Linked DNA regions of Homo sapiens: region 2 is linked to region 1. Evidence: promoter capture Hi-C in 16 types of primary human blood cells and fetal thymus (Javierre and others, 2016). All regions are on one chromosome and are shown on one strand. The core of a region is centred on a gene start or on the middle of the fragment in contact, and the rest is flanking DNA. Distances in the headings are between cores, read along the strand shown. Region 1 holds the start of LINC01996 (long intergenic non-protein coding RNA 1996). Region 2 overlaps MINK1 (misshapen like kinase 1).

What was found. The method cuts DNA at HindIII sites, captures the fragments that hold promoters and counts their contacts. A CHiCAGO score of 5 or more calls a contact.
Region 2: a fragment that was not itself captured here is called in contact with the fragment with the promoter of LINC01996 in region 1 in 1 of 17 cell types (erythroblasts); the score reaches 5.3 in erythroblasts.

What each region holds. Positions count from the first base shown.
Region 1 is chr17:4,606,426-4,613,988 of GRCh38, reverse strand. It overlaps LINC01996 (long intergenic non-protein coding RNA 1996), which reads right to left and starts at 3,540. Exons shown (of 2, transcript NR_145431.1): 1 at 3,156-3,540. SMTNL2 (smoothelin like 2) reads right to left here. Exons shown (of 8, transcript NM_001114974.2): 8 at 5,670-6,628. The coding sequence ends at 6,502. The HindIII fragment of the contact is 12,447 bases long and covers 1-3,700 here.
Region 2 is chr17:4,856,401-4,863,963 of GRCh38, reverse strand. The region is part of intron 1 of MINK1 (misshapen like kinase 1); the gene reads right to left. It also overlaps the pseudogene ATP6V0CP1. Among named protein-coding and RNA genes, the nearest start is that of MINK1, 27 kb to the right of the region's middle. RefSeq lists a silencer at 3,816-4,110. The HindIII fragment of the contact is 168 bases long and covers 2,925-3,092 here.

The DNA of each region.
Region 1 (7,563 bases), core at 2,291-4,790:
TGCCTGGCCTATGCAGGGCTTTTTTAAAGAGGAGGAGGATCAGCCGGGCGCAGTGGCTCACACCTGTAATCCCAGCACTTCCCTGGGAGGCCAAGGCAGGCGGATCATCTGAGGTCAGGAGTTCGAGACCAGCCTGGCCAACATGGTGAAACCCCGTCTCTATCAAAAATACAAAAATTAGCCAGGCGTGGTGGCGGGTGTCTGTGGTCCCAGCTACTTGGGAGGCTGAGGCAGGAGAATCGCTTGAACCTAAGAGGTGGAGGTTGCAGTGAGCTGAGATTGCACCACTGCACTCCAGAGCAAGTCTCCATCTCAAAAAAAGAAAAAGAAAAAGAAAAAAAGGACGAGAAGGATCTCTGTGAAATGATAGATATATACCTGCTTATTGTTGTGGAAGGAAGGTAAAAAGAAAAGGAGGAAGGGAGAAGACAGGCAAGGAGGAGAAAACAGAGACTAAGGGTGGGAACAGATGGAGGAATGGGAATGGGAATATACCTTTTTGTAGAGTTTTGACTTTTGACCTAGGTGAAGTATTTACATAGTCAAAAAAAGAAAATAAAAATGATGGAAACAAACCTTTAATTGAATACAAACAGAATCAAGTCAACCTCATGCATATCAAATTCATAACATGGTTTCCAAGAGAAAATAATTCAAGTAACTTTTATTTCTTTTTTTTTTTTTTTGAAACAGGGTCTCACTCTGTCACTTCGTGTGCTGGAGTGCAGTGGCGTGGTCTTGGCTCACTGCAACCTCCGCCTCCCAGGTCCTGGTTCAAGCAATTCTCCTGCCTCAGCCTCCCTAGTAGCTGGGATTACAGGCATGTACCACCATGCCCGGCTAATTTTTGTATTTTTAGTAGAGACAGGGTTTCGCTATGTTGGCCAGGCTGGTCTTGAACTCCTGGCCTCAAGTGATCCGCCTGCCTCGGCCTCCCAGAGTGCTGGGATTACAGGCGTGAGCCACCGTGCCCAGCCTCAAGTAACTTTTGAATCCAGCACCCTGTGCACCCTTAGGGAATATACCCAAAGGTGGGGAAAGGGGCTGAAGGGAAATCCCAAACCTTACTTGGTGGGTTTGTTGTTGGCAGTGACATCAGTTTAAGAATTCGGAAACTACTGTTTCAGAATTTGGACATTGCGGTACAGAAGAAATCCGTAAGTGTATTGAAATTGTTGGGAATCAGGATGGTTTGAAAAAAGGAAAAATAGGGACTAATGTACAGATGAGGCCTGTGGTGCTGAATTGAAGCTGGAGGTTTCAGTATACTTGCAGGCTCTTCTAAAACATCTTAGCTCTGTTCACTGCAAGGGCCTAGAAGCAGGACACCCAGCAAAACCGGCACACCAAGTCCCTGGACCTTCATTGGGAAATAAAAATTCTCCACCACAAGAGACCAGGATCTGAATAAATGACTGATTCCACAGTTGGGGCAAGGAAAGTAAAAGGTCAGTCTGGAGCGCCTTGTGCCAGAAAGCAAGAATGTGCCCAAAGGCCGGGCACGGTGGCTCACGCCTGTAATCCCAGCACTTTGGGAGGCCGAGGTGGGCAGATCACCTGAGGTCAGGAGTTCAAGACCAGCCTGGCCAACATGGTGAAACCCCGTCTCTACTAAAAATATAAAAATTAGCCAGGCGTGGTGGCTTATGCCTGTAGTTCCAGCTACTCAGGAGGCTGAGGCACGAGAATCGCTTGAACCTGGGAGGTGGAGGTTGTAGTGAGCTGAGATCACGCCACTGCACTCCAGCCTGGGCAACAGAGTGAGACTCTGTCTCAAAAAAGTAAAAGAAAATAAAATGCTCAAAGAACCATGGGAATATGGCAAAAAGACACAAGAGCTGTCTTCTCCCTCTGAACAGTTTGAGCATCAAAAAAAATTATAACAGTAAGCGATTACAACACATTGAATTAAAAAAAAAAATCCATGGGCCTCCAGGAACACTCAAAAACTGAGTTGGAGGGAGGGAAAGACTTTCTTTACAGAAGAATGCCAGCCAGTAAACATCAAAGAAATATATGTTTTTTTTTTTTTTGAGATGGAGTCTCGCTCTGTCGCCCAGGCTGGAGTGCAGTGGCACGATCTCCGCTCACTGCAAGCTCCTCCCGGGTTCACGCCATTCTCCTGCCTCAGCCTCCTGAGTAGCTGGGACTACAGGCGCCCGCCACCACGCCCAGCTAATTTTTTGTATTTTTAGTAGAGACGGGGGTTTCACCGTACTAGCCAGGATGGTCTCGATCCCCTGACCTCGTGATTCGTCTGCCTCGGCCTCCCAAAGTGCTGGGATTACAGGCGTGAGCCACCGCGCCCGGCCAGAAATACAATTTTTTGAGACAGAGTTTCACTCTTGTTGCCCAGGCTGGAGTGCAATGGCTCAATCTCGGCTCACTGCAACCTCAACCAAATTGAGGTAAAACACTCAATTTGGACATCCACAGACTCCCCAAAGTCCTGGGCTATGAACCCTAATGTAGAAGAAGGAGCATAGAGCTTAGGTCACAGCACATAGGAGCAACAAGCCGAGGAGAGGAGGCTCTAATGAACAGAGGAGGGAAAGCAACAGCCAGAGAGGAGGGCAAGCCAGGAAGAGCCTCGGCAGCACAAATGCCACTCAGTCTGCAAACCAGATAAGGACGCTTGCACTGGGAGTGATTAAAACTCAGATCCCCGGCCGGGCGCAGTGGCTCATGCCTGTAATCCCAGCACTTTGGGAGGCCAAGGCAGGCGGATCACTTGAGGTCAGGAGTTCGAGACCAGCCTGACCAACATGGTGAAACCCCGTCTGTACTAAAAATACAAAAATTAGCCTGGCATGGTGGCGGGCGCCTGTACATCCAGCTACACAGGAGGCTGAGGCACGAGAATCGCTTGAACCTGGGAGGTGGAGGTTGCAGTGAGCCAAGATTGTGCCACTGCACTCCAGCCTGGGTGACAGAGTGAGACTCCGTCTCAAAAAAAACAAAAACAAACAAAAAATCAGAACCCTAAAGATCGATTTTATATCCACCTACGTGACAGTAAGAAAGCTGGATCAACTTCAGGAATGAAGGTGGACAGTCAAGACCTACGGTAACACTGTCTGGTGTCTCTCTGGTGCCACCACCCACATCACCTGCCTCTGGTTCAGGGCCCCTTCCCAGCTTGTCATCCCACCTACCTGGACCTTGTCCCTCCAGTGAAGGCTGCCCGGATGCCTCAGAGAGCACAGCCTTCTTAGCTTCATTCTTCCGGAGTGCTTTTCCTTATTTGGTGCTTTCTAGGGAGTAGGCAGGTCAGGTCTTAGGGATTTTTCTTTCTTTCTTTCTTTCTTTTTTGAGACAGGGTCTCACTCTATCTCCAGGCAGTGGCACAACCATCGCTCACTGATGCCTTGACCTCCCAGGCTCAAGCCATCCTCCCGCCTTGGCCTTCCAAGTAATGGGGACTACAAGCATGTGTCACTACACCTGGCTAATTTTAAAACTTTCTGTAGAGACAGAGTCTCACTCTGTTGCCCAGGCTGGTCTCAAACTCCAGAGCTCAAATATTTGTCCTGTCTCGGCCTCCCAAAGTGCTAGGACTACAGGCATGAGCCACCGCGCCCAGCCTAGGAATTTTTAAGGTGTTCTTTCAAAAGACTATGAGGGCTGTTTGGTATCAAAGCAAGTCCAAGAACCAAGAGATAAGAGATCAAAAGCTCTAAAAGCAAACCCAATCCAAGCTTTAAAAGTGAGAGAGATAAGATGGCTCAGAAATAATCATACTGGGTCCATTTATCAGGTGGTTGGGAGAGCACAGCTAACAGAGGGAGAAAAAATAAATCAAGTGGGCCACGTCCACAGGCGTAATCAACTCATCAGAATGAGTTGGTCACCTGTCACCAGCTAGAAAAACCCAAGCCAGAGTTGGTTCTGCTGGACTGGTAAGATGTCCCACCCCAAACTGACCAACTGAATCAGCATTTCTAGTCTTCTGTGCAATTGCCTGCAGTCGTATAGACCCGGTCATGATGGCAGAGAATAAAATCTTCTCTCACACCGGTCTCCAGTTACAGAGTTCTGATCACTGCAACCGGGAAAGCTGAGAACTCTTCATCATCTAGCACATTTGCGAAATTCATTGGCTTTAACAAACTGTTCCCCAAACACCTGGCCTGTGCGGTCTCCTCTCACCAGCATGTGCTCTGTCATATTCAGAAAGTGCTTATAGGCTCTCGCTTGCCTTGAAAAATATCCATCAGCTATCAGAAAAGCTAAAACCCATCGTGGCTCTGGTGAAACGTTCACTTCAGGGAAACACACAAGCCAATTTGGTCCGACTTAATAAGTTTAACAAAATCCAGGTGAAGGAATCTATCTGGAAAAACAGAAGACTCTTATGAGCAGCTCCAAGAAATAATTCTCTCGGGAAAGGGGAAAAAAGATGTGAATTCCTCCATACCAGGGTAGAAAGCAAGATGAAATTGGGTCTCACAAATGGGGAACATTCACGTAACCCCGACCTAAAACGGTGGTTTCCAAATATCTTAGGATTGTGAGACCTTCCTGGATTTTCTTCTCATGCTTTGTCTTAGAGGTAAAATCATGTTTGAAACTCACAAACTGTCTTATGATCTCTCACCCCCCACCCCCAACAAAGACCACAGACAAGAACATCATGGAACCAACTTTAAAAACTCGAGTCTGTCTCATTCTGAATGTGAGACATGAGGGACACCATTCCTAAAGTTTAAAAGAAATTGTTCTGCATTCTGGCAGGATCTGCTCTGTTTCATGCGCAGAGCGTACGGCCATGTCTGCAACTCGGGAGAGCTCCATTTAACGTGTGCGAGGACTCAGTAACATATAGCCATGCTTTTTACAGAGCCCTTGTGTTCCCAGATTGGCTTCAGGTTTGAAACCCTAACCTTCAGTTATGTGTCCTGTTAATAATAGGTCTCACCTCCCCAAGCGTACAAGAGACGAGAGAGCTAGCAAGGGAATGGTTTCCAGAGTGGGAGAATCCGAGAGAGAGGGCAAGACTGCAGCCTGGACCAACCAATCCATGGAGAATACTGCTCACCCACCTGCAGGCTCTGCCATGTTCCTCCTGACACCCCCAGGGATCTCCTGCCCACCCCCCAATATACCACCCAAGGGACACGTGGGACCCCACAAAGGCACACAGGCACTGGTGTTGAGAGCCGGCTGCATGAGGTGAAGACACAGATCCGCTCCTTAAAGGGAAGGTTTAGAAGTGCATGGCTAAAATCCAACCCAATTATACAATGATTCTTGGCTGAGAATAAGCTAATGGCTGGAGCTCTATAGAATCTCAAGATTTTTCTATGAAAGTCCTACCACCAAACAGCTGTGAAAATAAACCAACGTTCCTTGATGGGCTTCCTCCAAGTGCGGGACCACCCCAAACCCTGCTGTCTTGGGCCACTGTTTATCACAAACACTGCGGTCTACATCCAGAGGACGGATCTCAAGGGGAACTTTCTGTTGACGCTCCTTCCACAACATGGAGATGGGAGACAGGCACACTCAGAGATGATCAGAGATGACAGCAAATGCCATCTTCAGCTTTCCAGGCCAGTGATTTAAGTGCAGGAACAGGGGTGGAATGTAGTGGATATTCACTTGGAAGGTGTGCAAAGTCTCTTATTCACAGAACTCCCATCTCCTAAACAGAAATGACAAACCCCAAGCAAAATTCAACACATCTTTTTTATGTATAAATGGGTCAGTGGTACAGAGGGAGTTACTTTTTATAAATATCTGCAGCAAATCCCCTAAAAAAGATGTGAATAAAAACTCTCTCTCAGCACAAAGGGCCTATTCCTTCCCCAAAAGTGTTAAATTCCCGAGAGCCTGTGCTTAGCCAAACACTTGTGGGGCCTCCTGGGAAGAACAGGAGGACTTTGGGACCGAGAGGAGAGCCTTCCCATCTCCCCGGAGAGCGGAGGTGACTTGAAGGTCATCTGTTGCCCAGGACTTGGGAGTGATTAAACTGTTTCTTCCCAAGACTTGAGGTCTTCTTTGTCAAGCTGCTGATTAAGCGGTCTCTCTGTTTCCTGGCAGTGGCCCAGAGGGAGGGAGGAGAGGAACCTACAATCGCGTGAGGAAGTAAAAAACTCTGGGTATTTTGATAAAAAAAAACACTTGGTAATCACTGTAACCCTGTAAAGCCGATGTATCGAATTCACCAGAGGGAAAATTGTAGATTAGCATTCTGGAAGCTATAAACACAAGCATTTCTTTAGGAAGATCATTACTTAGCACCAATGTCTCTCTCTCTCTCATAATTTTTCCTTTTCCTCCAAGCCCTTGGCTGTGATCAGTGCTGTCGGACCACAGCTCAGCAGTACTTTTAATCAGTAACACAGCTGGGCTCGAAGGGGAGTGCCGTCACATGCCACAGAACAAACAGCGCGCTCACACCAAACGGCAAGGCTCCTGGGGGCATCCTGGCTGGGGAATCGCAAGCGGACCCCCGGCCTCTTCCTGGGGCTGCTCTTTGGCAATCCAGGCTCAGGGGCTTTACTCGAAGCGACGCAGGTGGTTGTACAGCGACTGGACGTAGGTGAAGACACACATGGGGTCCGGCTTGCGGCCCATCACCATCATGTCCTCCACTTCGATGAGGCGCTCACAGTTGGCCAGATTCCTGAAACACACAAGCCCCGTCAGAACGGTGGTCCCAGCCATCAGCCAGCCCCACAGCCGCGACAGGGCCGGTGTCTCGGTCCCGGGAACAGAGCTCAGCCGGCAGCCAGAGGTTCCCAAGGACCCACCAGCGGGGAATTCAGATAACCCTGGCAGAACCCTTGGAGTCACTGACTCCAATACAATGTTTCCCAAACTCCCAGATTTATGAGCCACCTGTACAATTCATGTTTTCATTTAAACAGACTTACTTTATTTAATTTGGGTTTTTTTTTTAGAGACAGGGGCTTGCTCTGTTGCCCAGGCATGAGTACAGAGGCACGATCCTAGCTTATTGCAGCCTCGATCTCCTAGGCCCAAGTGATCCTCACGCCTTGTCTTCCCAAGTAGCTGTGATTCCAGGCACACACCACCATGCCCAGCTAGTTGTTTGTTTTTTTGTTTTGTTTTTGAGACAGAGTTTTGCTCTTGTTGCCCAGGCTGGAGCGCAGTGGCACAATCTTGGCTCACTGCAACCTCTGCCTCCCGGGTTCGAGTGATTCTCCTGTCTCAGCCTCCCGAGTAGCTGGGATTACAGGTGTCTGCCACCACGCCTGGCTAATTTTTTTTTTGTATTTTTAGTAGAGACAAGGTTTCACCATGTTGGCCAGGCTGGTCTCGATCTCCTGACCTCAGGTGATCCACCTGCCTTGGCCTCCCAAAGTGCTGTGATTACAGGCGTGAGACACCACGCCCGGCCCAGCTAGTTTTTTAAAAATAGTTTTGTAGAGATGGGGTCTCACTATGTTACCCAGACTGGTCTTGAACGCCTGCCTCAAGCGATCTTCCCACCTCAGCCTCCTGAGTAGCTGTGATTACAGGCACAGGCGACCCACAGTACCTGGCATATTGTATTTAAATTTGAAGTGAAACTATATTTAAGTTAAAAAAAAAAAA
Region 2 (7,563 bases), core at 1,759-4,258, 250 kb before region 1:
TACAAAAATTAGCTGGGCGTGGTGGCACACACGTGTAATCCAGCTACTTGGGAGGCTGAGGCAGGAGAATCTCTTGAACCCGGGAGGCGAAGGTTGCAGTGAGCCGAGATTGCGCCACCGCACTCCAGCCTGGGTGACAGAGTGAGACTCCGTCTCAAAAATAATAATAATAATAATAATAATGAGACAGCTAGCAATTTTTGAGCATTTCATTTGTTCCTGGTACTGCCGAGCACTTTAGAAGTATAATCTCACATGACAAACTTTGAAGTGGGTACTATTGTTATACTCATTTCACAGGTGAAAAAGTTTACAACAATTAAACACTTGCCCAGGCTAGGAAGTGGTAGAGCCAAGATTTGACTGAAAAATCTGACCTCAAGGCCTGCAGTGTGCTTTGCCTGGCTCATAGCTCCTGTTGCCTAAAGGACCGGGTTTTCCACCATTTCCTCCCCTTTCTAGCCCCAGCAACAGTTTAAGACATGAGTTCCTGACCCCAGGGAGCCAGTCCAAGATTGAAGGAAAAAAGGTAACCTAAGGCAAACTTCCCCTTCAGCCATTTCAAATAAAAGGGAAGATGCCAAAGAGTGCATGGAGAGTCAAGGCTGGAGAGCCCATTATTATCTCAGGTAAAGGAAAGCAGAGGCCATGAGTGGGCAGAGTGGCCACACTGTACACAGAGAGCACAGCAGACATGGAAGGAGAGGGCATGGGAACTACAGGGGGAGACAGAAGCGGGAGAGTGACCAACTGACTCTAGCTATCCCCCGCTGTTACCATTAACCCAGAACCACCCTATGGTTTCAGTTCCAAGGAACTGTCTGGGCTGCCATTCAGGTGCCTAGGTTCGAACAAGATTCTTTTTCTTTTCTCTTTTCTTTTCCCTTGGCATGTGAAGTGAGAAGGATTTTTTTTGGTTTTTGTTTTGTGAGGCAGGGTCTTGCAATGTTGCCCAGGCTGGAGTGCAGTGGTGCAATTGCAGCCCACTGCAGCTTCAACCTCTTGGGTTCAAGCAGTCCTCCCACCTCAGCTTCCTGAGTAGCTGGAACCACGGGCATGCACCATCATGCCCAGCTACTTTTTAAAACCTTTTTTGTAGAGATGGGATCTCACTGTGTTGCCCAGGCTGGTATTGAACTCCTGGGCTCAAGCAATCCTGCTGCCTCGGACACACAAAGTGCTAGAATTACAGGCATGAGCCACACGCCCTTCCAAGAAGGGTCTTGACTTTAAATAAAAAATAATATTGACAGCCTGGCACTGTGCTAAGTGTTTTACACACACCAACTAATTTTTCTTTTTTTTTTTTTGAGATGGATTCTCACTCTGTCACCCAGGCTGGAGTGCAGTGGCGCAATCTTGGCTCACTGCAACCTCCACTTCCTGGATTCAAGCAGTTCTCCTGCCTCAGCCTCCCAGTAGCTAGGATTACAGGTGCCCGCCACCACGCCAGGCTAGTTTTTGTATTTTTAGTAGAGACGGGGTTTCGCCATGTTGGCCTGGCTGGTCTTGAACTCCTGACCTCAGGTGATCCACCCGTCTCGGCCTCCCAAAGTGCTGGGATTACAGGCGTGAGCCACCGTGCCTGGCCCACACACCAACTAATTTAATCCTCACCTAACTCCATGAGGTAGATATTATTATTATTCTCACTTTACAGAGGAGGAAACAGGCTCAGGGAAGGTAAATAACTTGCCAAGGTCAAACAGCTATTTCAGTGGCAGAGCCAGGGTTTGAATGCATGTAGCCGGCTCGAGTCTCTGCTGCATCTCTCCCTTTATTTGACTTAGCTAGAGCAGATTCCTTCCAACCCAACAAGCCAGACCACAACATCTCTATTTAACCTTTCACAGGACCAAGCCTCATCTCCACAAGTAGAACAGAAGCTCATTAAGGGCAGGAGCCATTTCTAGGTGGTACTTGGGTATACATGGAATGAGAATTAGGCGGCCTCACACTGAGATGGGTGCCCGAATGAAAACAGCAGTACTTTATCTGTGCAGCTCTGAATCTATAACATACACAAAACGACTATTGTCGCATAGTGAGCATGTGGGGTAACAGTCTGCGGCTGCTTTCTCTCACTCACTAGAGCTTCTATTACTAAGCATGTCTTATCTCCTCACATTTTACATATAATAAAATTGTGTAAAATCTTTGGTTGGGCCGGGCATGGTGGCTCACCCTGTAATCCCAGCACCTTGGGAGGCTGAGGCGAGTGGATTACCTGAGGTCAGGAGTTCAAGACCAGCCTGGCCAACATGGTGAAACTCTGTCTCTACTAAAAATACAGAAAGTATCTGGGTGTGGTGGCACGTGCCTGTAATCTCAGCTACTAGGGAGGCTGGGGCAGGAGAATCGCTTGAACCCAGGAGGCGGAGGTTACAGTAAACTGAGATCGTGCCACTGCAATCCACCTTGGGCAACAGAGTGAGACTCCAACTCAAAAAAATAAATAAATAAAAACCTTTGGTTGATGGAGAGGCTCAAGAAGATACCATACAAGTGTTGGACTCAATTATTGAAAGGTGGGGCTCTGGAATAACAGACAGAGCGCCTCATGTGGGTCGAAATAGATGTCGCCTGGCACTGTGCCCTGCGTTGTTTACGATGTATAATTGTACATATTGCTTTGCTCAGCTATGAAGAGCCAACAGTGATGTTAACGCAGAAACTCTTGGTAGATGTCTCGTCTCTCGCAGCTCCGCATACAATGCAAGGCACTGGCCACACCAGGCTGGCCCCAAGCAGCACGTCCTGGTGACACTGCACTCGCCTCACTAGGGAGCTGCCTGTGGTTTGCTCCTGTTCCCCTCACAGCTCCAGGTATGTTCTGAGTATATACGAGGTCACCAAATCGTCGCTGATTTAATGATTCAACGCCAGACAGAGCAAGGCGGAGCTGGGTTTGCTCAAGGAAAGCTTTTCAGAAGAAGCTGAGGAACAAGGGCTGGAGGGAGAGAAGAGGCACAAAGCTGGTGGCCTGAGGCAGGCAAGGGGAGGGCACGAGCTGTCCCCTCAGACTCTGCTCCTCTGCCTTAAATCCCCCTTTAACTATTTCAAGTGTATTAGTTTCCCCAGCTTCAAAAGCTTCCCGAAGTTGCTCCCTAAGGCTTCGGCATCTCCCCAGCACGTGGCGCGCACTGGTGCTGTACAGTTAAGGGACACAGCGCCGTGGTCCTTCCACCTGCACCACGGTCTCTGCTCCCTAGAACTGACCAGGGGAGAACCAGGCACACACCAGCCTTGAGCCCTTGCTTCTTTGCTCTGCTCAGCCTCAAGGGACTCCCTGGACTCCTCCCACAGCTCCTACCTGGAGGAAAAACTAGGGGCAAATGTGAGCCCGTTGCAGCTCTCACGGTGCTGCCTGGGGCCCAGCATCAACAGACATTTTCCTTTCCTTTCCCCAAAACCAAAGTCATGTTAGTGTAGTAGTAGTAGTACAGACTGAGAGGAGATTAGAAACAAAGGGTTTGATTATTTCCCAAGAGAAAATGCAAGAGTTCATGCATAAACTGTTTCCAGAACGCTGTCCGGTTGGGAGGCTGGGACACGAACTGAAACTCAGAGCCTAGGAAGCGTGAGCCAAGGCTGTGGGGCCAGGAAAAGGAGAGAAGGTGAAACCCCCGTCAGTCCCTCACAATCAGCACGTGGAAATCTAGAAATGCAGGAGAGGCCTGGACTCATGGTGGAATCCAGAATGAAAGAGGTGGACGACTGAATGAGCAGAAGGAGGCAAGCACCAGAGGCTTGGGGGTCACATTTCTTGGAAGTGGCCTGGAGCTGGCAGATGAGAACTCTGGCTACCCGTCCTCATTCCACTAACAGTAGCTCCTCTAACGACATGCCCCTTCCCTCTGTACCCCGCTCCGCATGCGGCAAGTAGTTCCCGGACGCGACCCTTCCCCCTGTACCCCGCTCCGCATGGGGCCAGTAGTTCCCGGACGCGCCCCTTCCCTCTGTACCCCGCTCCGCATGCGGCAAGTAGTTCCCGGACGCGCCCCTTCCCTCTGTACCCGGCTCCGCATGCGGAAAGTAGTTCCTACGGTGTTGGTTTTGCATGTAGATGAAACCCTTTGAGGGGTAAAGGTTTTTTTTTTAAGTACTTTAGCAAATGCAAACTGTTATTATCAATATTAGCCAGCATCTTTTTTTTTTTTTTTTTTTTTTTTTTTGAGATGGAGTTTCGCTCTTGTCACCCAGGCTGGAGTGCAATGGCAAAATCTAGGCTCACTGCAACCTCCGCCTCCCAAGTTCAAGCGATTCTCCTGCCTCAGCCTCCCAGGTAGCTGGGATTACAGGCGTGTGCAACCACACCCAGCTAATTTTTGTATTTTTAGTAGAGACAGGGTTTCACCATGTTGGCCAGGCTGGTCTCGAACTCCTGACCTCATGTGATCCATCCGCCTCAGCCTCCCAAAGTGCTGGGATTACGTAGCCAGTGTCTTTCTTAAGTGCCTGTCAAATAATGCTCCTGGTTTATAAGTGCCCCTGGCTCTACCTTCTGGGTGCTCAGACACCAACACAGAGAGAACAGAATTAACATCCTGAGAAGTTACATATGCTAAAATATAAAGAGTAAGATTGTGAGGAAACTGCAGGGGAAGCAGGTAGGTTAGGAAAAGGTATCCTCACTTTTCTGCTGACCGATGAGTCATAATTCTTGAATTTCGGTGCTGGAAAGGTCCATTAAGCATTCCAGGAGATTCTAGGGAGCTTCCAGAATGGTAGAAGAACTGGAACCATAAAGCCTGGGGAAGGGATGGAAGTCCTTGGGAAAGAAGCACTAAACAGCCCAGTGGAGACAAGGAAGGACTGGTCTCTCCTGTGCTTCGAGCCCAGCAATGATTATTCACTCAGATATGCCCCGGCAGGTCCTGCTGCTAGAGCCAGTGCTGTTCCCAGACCCAGGCAAGGTGCCATCCTACCCCTGACAGGAAACAGGGCAGGAGGTGGGGCTGCCCCGGGTGCCTGGTGTTGGGAGGGGCCGGGGGGAATCCCGGGTGTTGGGAGGACAAGGCAGAGTCAGCTAGCTGTGAGGCTAGGGGAGAAGACCTCTCTAGTCTGGGAGAGACCCCTCCTTTCCTAGCTCCTTGTACTTCCAAAAAGGCAGGCTTCCTGCTGTTACTAACCATACCAGGACTGACTATACAGCAGCCAGAAAGATTCTGAGAAACCTGTGATAGAGAAAAACAGATGCGGAAGCGGGAGAAGAGAATTTCATAGGACACTAGGGAAAGAGAATGGGAACTTGTGGTCTAAAGAGGGAACCAAGTCTGGCCAACATGGTGAAACCCCATCTCTATTACAAATACAAAAATTAGCTGGGCATGGTAGTGCATGCCTGTAATCCCAGCTACTCAGGAGGGTAAGGCATGAGAATCACTTGAGACTGGGAGGCGGAGGTTGCAGTGAGCCGAGACTGCACCACTGCACTCCAGCCTGGGCAACAGAGCAAGACCTCGTCTCAAAAAAAAAAAAAAATTAAATTTAAATTAAAAAAAAATAAACAGGGAACCAACAAGAGCTGGCAGAACAGAATAAAGTCTCAAGCCAAATAACTCCCTTGCCTTGGAAGAACAAGGCTGCCAGCGTCTTGGAGCCTCTGTTTATCGGGTACCAGTTCAAAGGACAGTGAGCCTGAGCTGGCCTGGGAGGCCCTCCCCCCTCCCAGATGAAAACAATAGGCCTGTTTTCCTGAGCTCTTCCTGTAATCCAGAAGGCCCACACAGAGAGGAAGAGGGGGGCAAAGGCAGTGGCTATACCCAGTGGGGGAGGGGATATTTAGCCTCCCATAAATTCATCAGCTCCCTTAAAGACACCCCAAAACACCAACAATCTAAGTGTTAAAATAGTGACTGCTATGCAAATGGAGCTTTAAAACCTATCCCTTAGCCCCAGTACCACCAGATTACTAACCCTAAACCCCATCTGTAGGAGATATTCTGAAGCCACCACAGGGGAAGGGATAAGGGCCTGAGAGACAAAGGACAGATGGGGTCTCCCCAACAATTTAAGTTAAGTTCCACAAGGATACAGTACTGGCAGAGATTTGGAAGTAGGGGCAAGTATTCTGACAGAAGGGTGGTGTCTTAGGCACCCTTCAATTAGGAGTAGCTAAAGGCTGTGTGTGTGTCTGTGTGTGTGCATAAGAAAAGAAATAGGAGGGTGTGTGTGTGGTAAGAAAGAGCATCTTGGCTGGGCGCGGTGGCTCACCCCTATAATCGCAGCACTTTGGGATGCCAAGGCTGGCGGATTGCCTGAGCTCAGGAGTTTGAGACCATACGGGGCAACATGGTGAAACCCCATCTCTACTAAAAATACAAAAAATTAGCTGGGCATGGTGGTGCGTGCCTATAGTTCCAGCTACTCGGGAGGCTGAGGCATGAGAATGGCTTGAGCCCTGGAGGCAGAGGTTGAAGTGAGCTGAGATCGCACCATTGCATTCCAGCTTGGGCTACAGAGTGACACTCCATCTCAAAAAAAAAAAAAAAAAAAAAAAAAACCAGCATCTTTGCTGCCACTAGTCCACTGTCTTTGCACTCACTCTCTGCCATGCCCATCCTTGTCCCCCTCCCCACTCACAGACATGTCCAACAACAGCCCCGAGTATGCTTTGGTTTTCACCATCTCGGGTGCTATGGCCACCATGGTCTCCAGTGGCCTGGGTGCTGCCTGTGGCATGGCCAAGAATGGCACCGGCATCATGGCCATGTCTGTCATGTGGCCAGAGCTGATCCACATGAAGTCCATCATCCCAGTGGTCATGGCTGGTATCATCACCATCTATGGCCTAGTGGCGGCTGTCCCCCCTGCCAACTCCCTGAATGATGACAACAGTCTCTATAGCAGTTTCCTCCAGCTGGGCGCTGGCCTGAGTGGCCTGGCAGCCGGCTTTGCCATCGTCATCGTGGGGGACACTGGCAAGTGTGGCACTGCCCAGCAGCCCCGACTATTTGTAGGCATGATACTGATCCTCATCTTTGCCAAGGTGCTCATTCTCTCCACAAAGCAGCCCCTCTCAAAACCCACCAGTCACAGAATACGATGTAAAGACCACCCCTCCTCATTCCGGAACAAACAGCCTGACACGCATGTGCTGGGCAGCTGGCCCTCAGTAGTTGATCTTCTAAGTGTACAGTGTCCTCGTGTTCATCGTCTGTTGGCCAGGCCTTGCCCCCTCCCGCCCCATGCTGTGGACATCTGAACCTACTCATCACCCATCCAGGTCCCCGACCAGTGAGGACTCAGGCCCCTGGATGCCCCACCCATCTCCCTTGAGTACTCTATGTATAAGGATGAATTAGAGTTGTCATTTTCTCTTCATTAGATATTTATAAAGATTTGGCCTGTCCATACCCCTGTGGAGCAGCCCTCATCTCCCACCTATCTGTCACGTCATGGAGGTTCCCATTGCGGAGGCTCCTTGGATGGAACCACCCTCTCCAGCCCGCGCTGCCAGGCCCTGTGCGGCAGCTGTGTCTGATAAAGTTCTCAGATGTCGGGGGAGGGAAAGAAAAAAAAAAGAGAGTGTGAGTACGTAAGAGAGAGAAAACGGGAGTG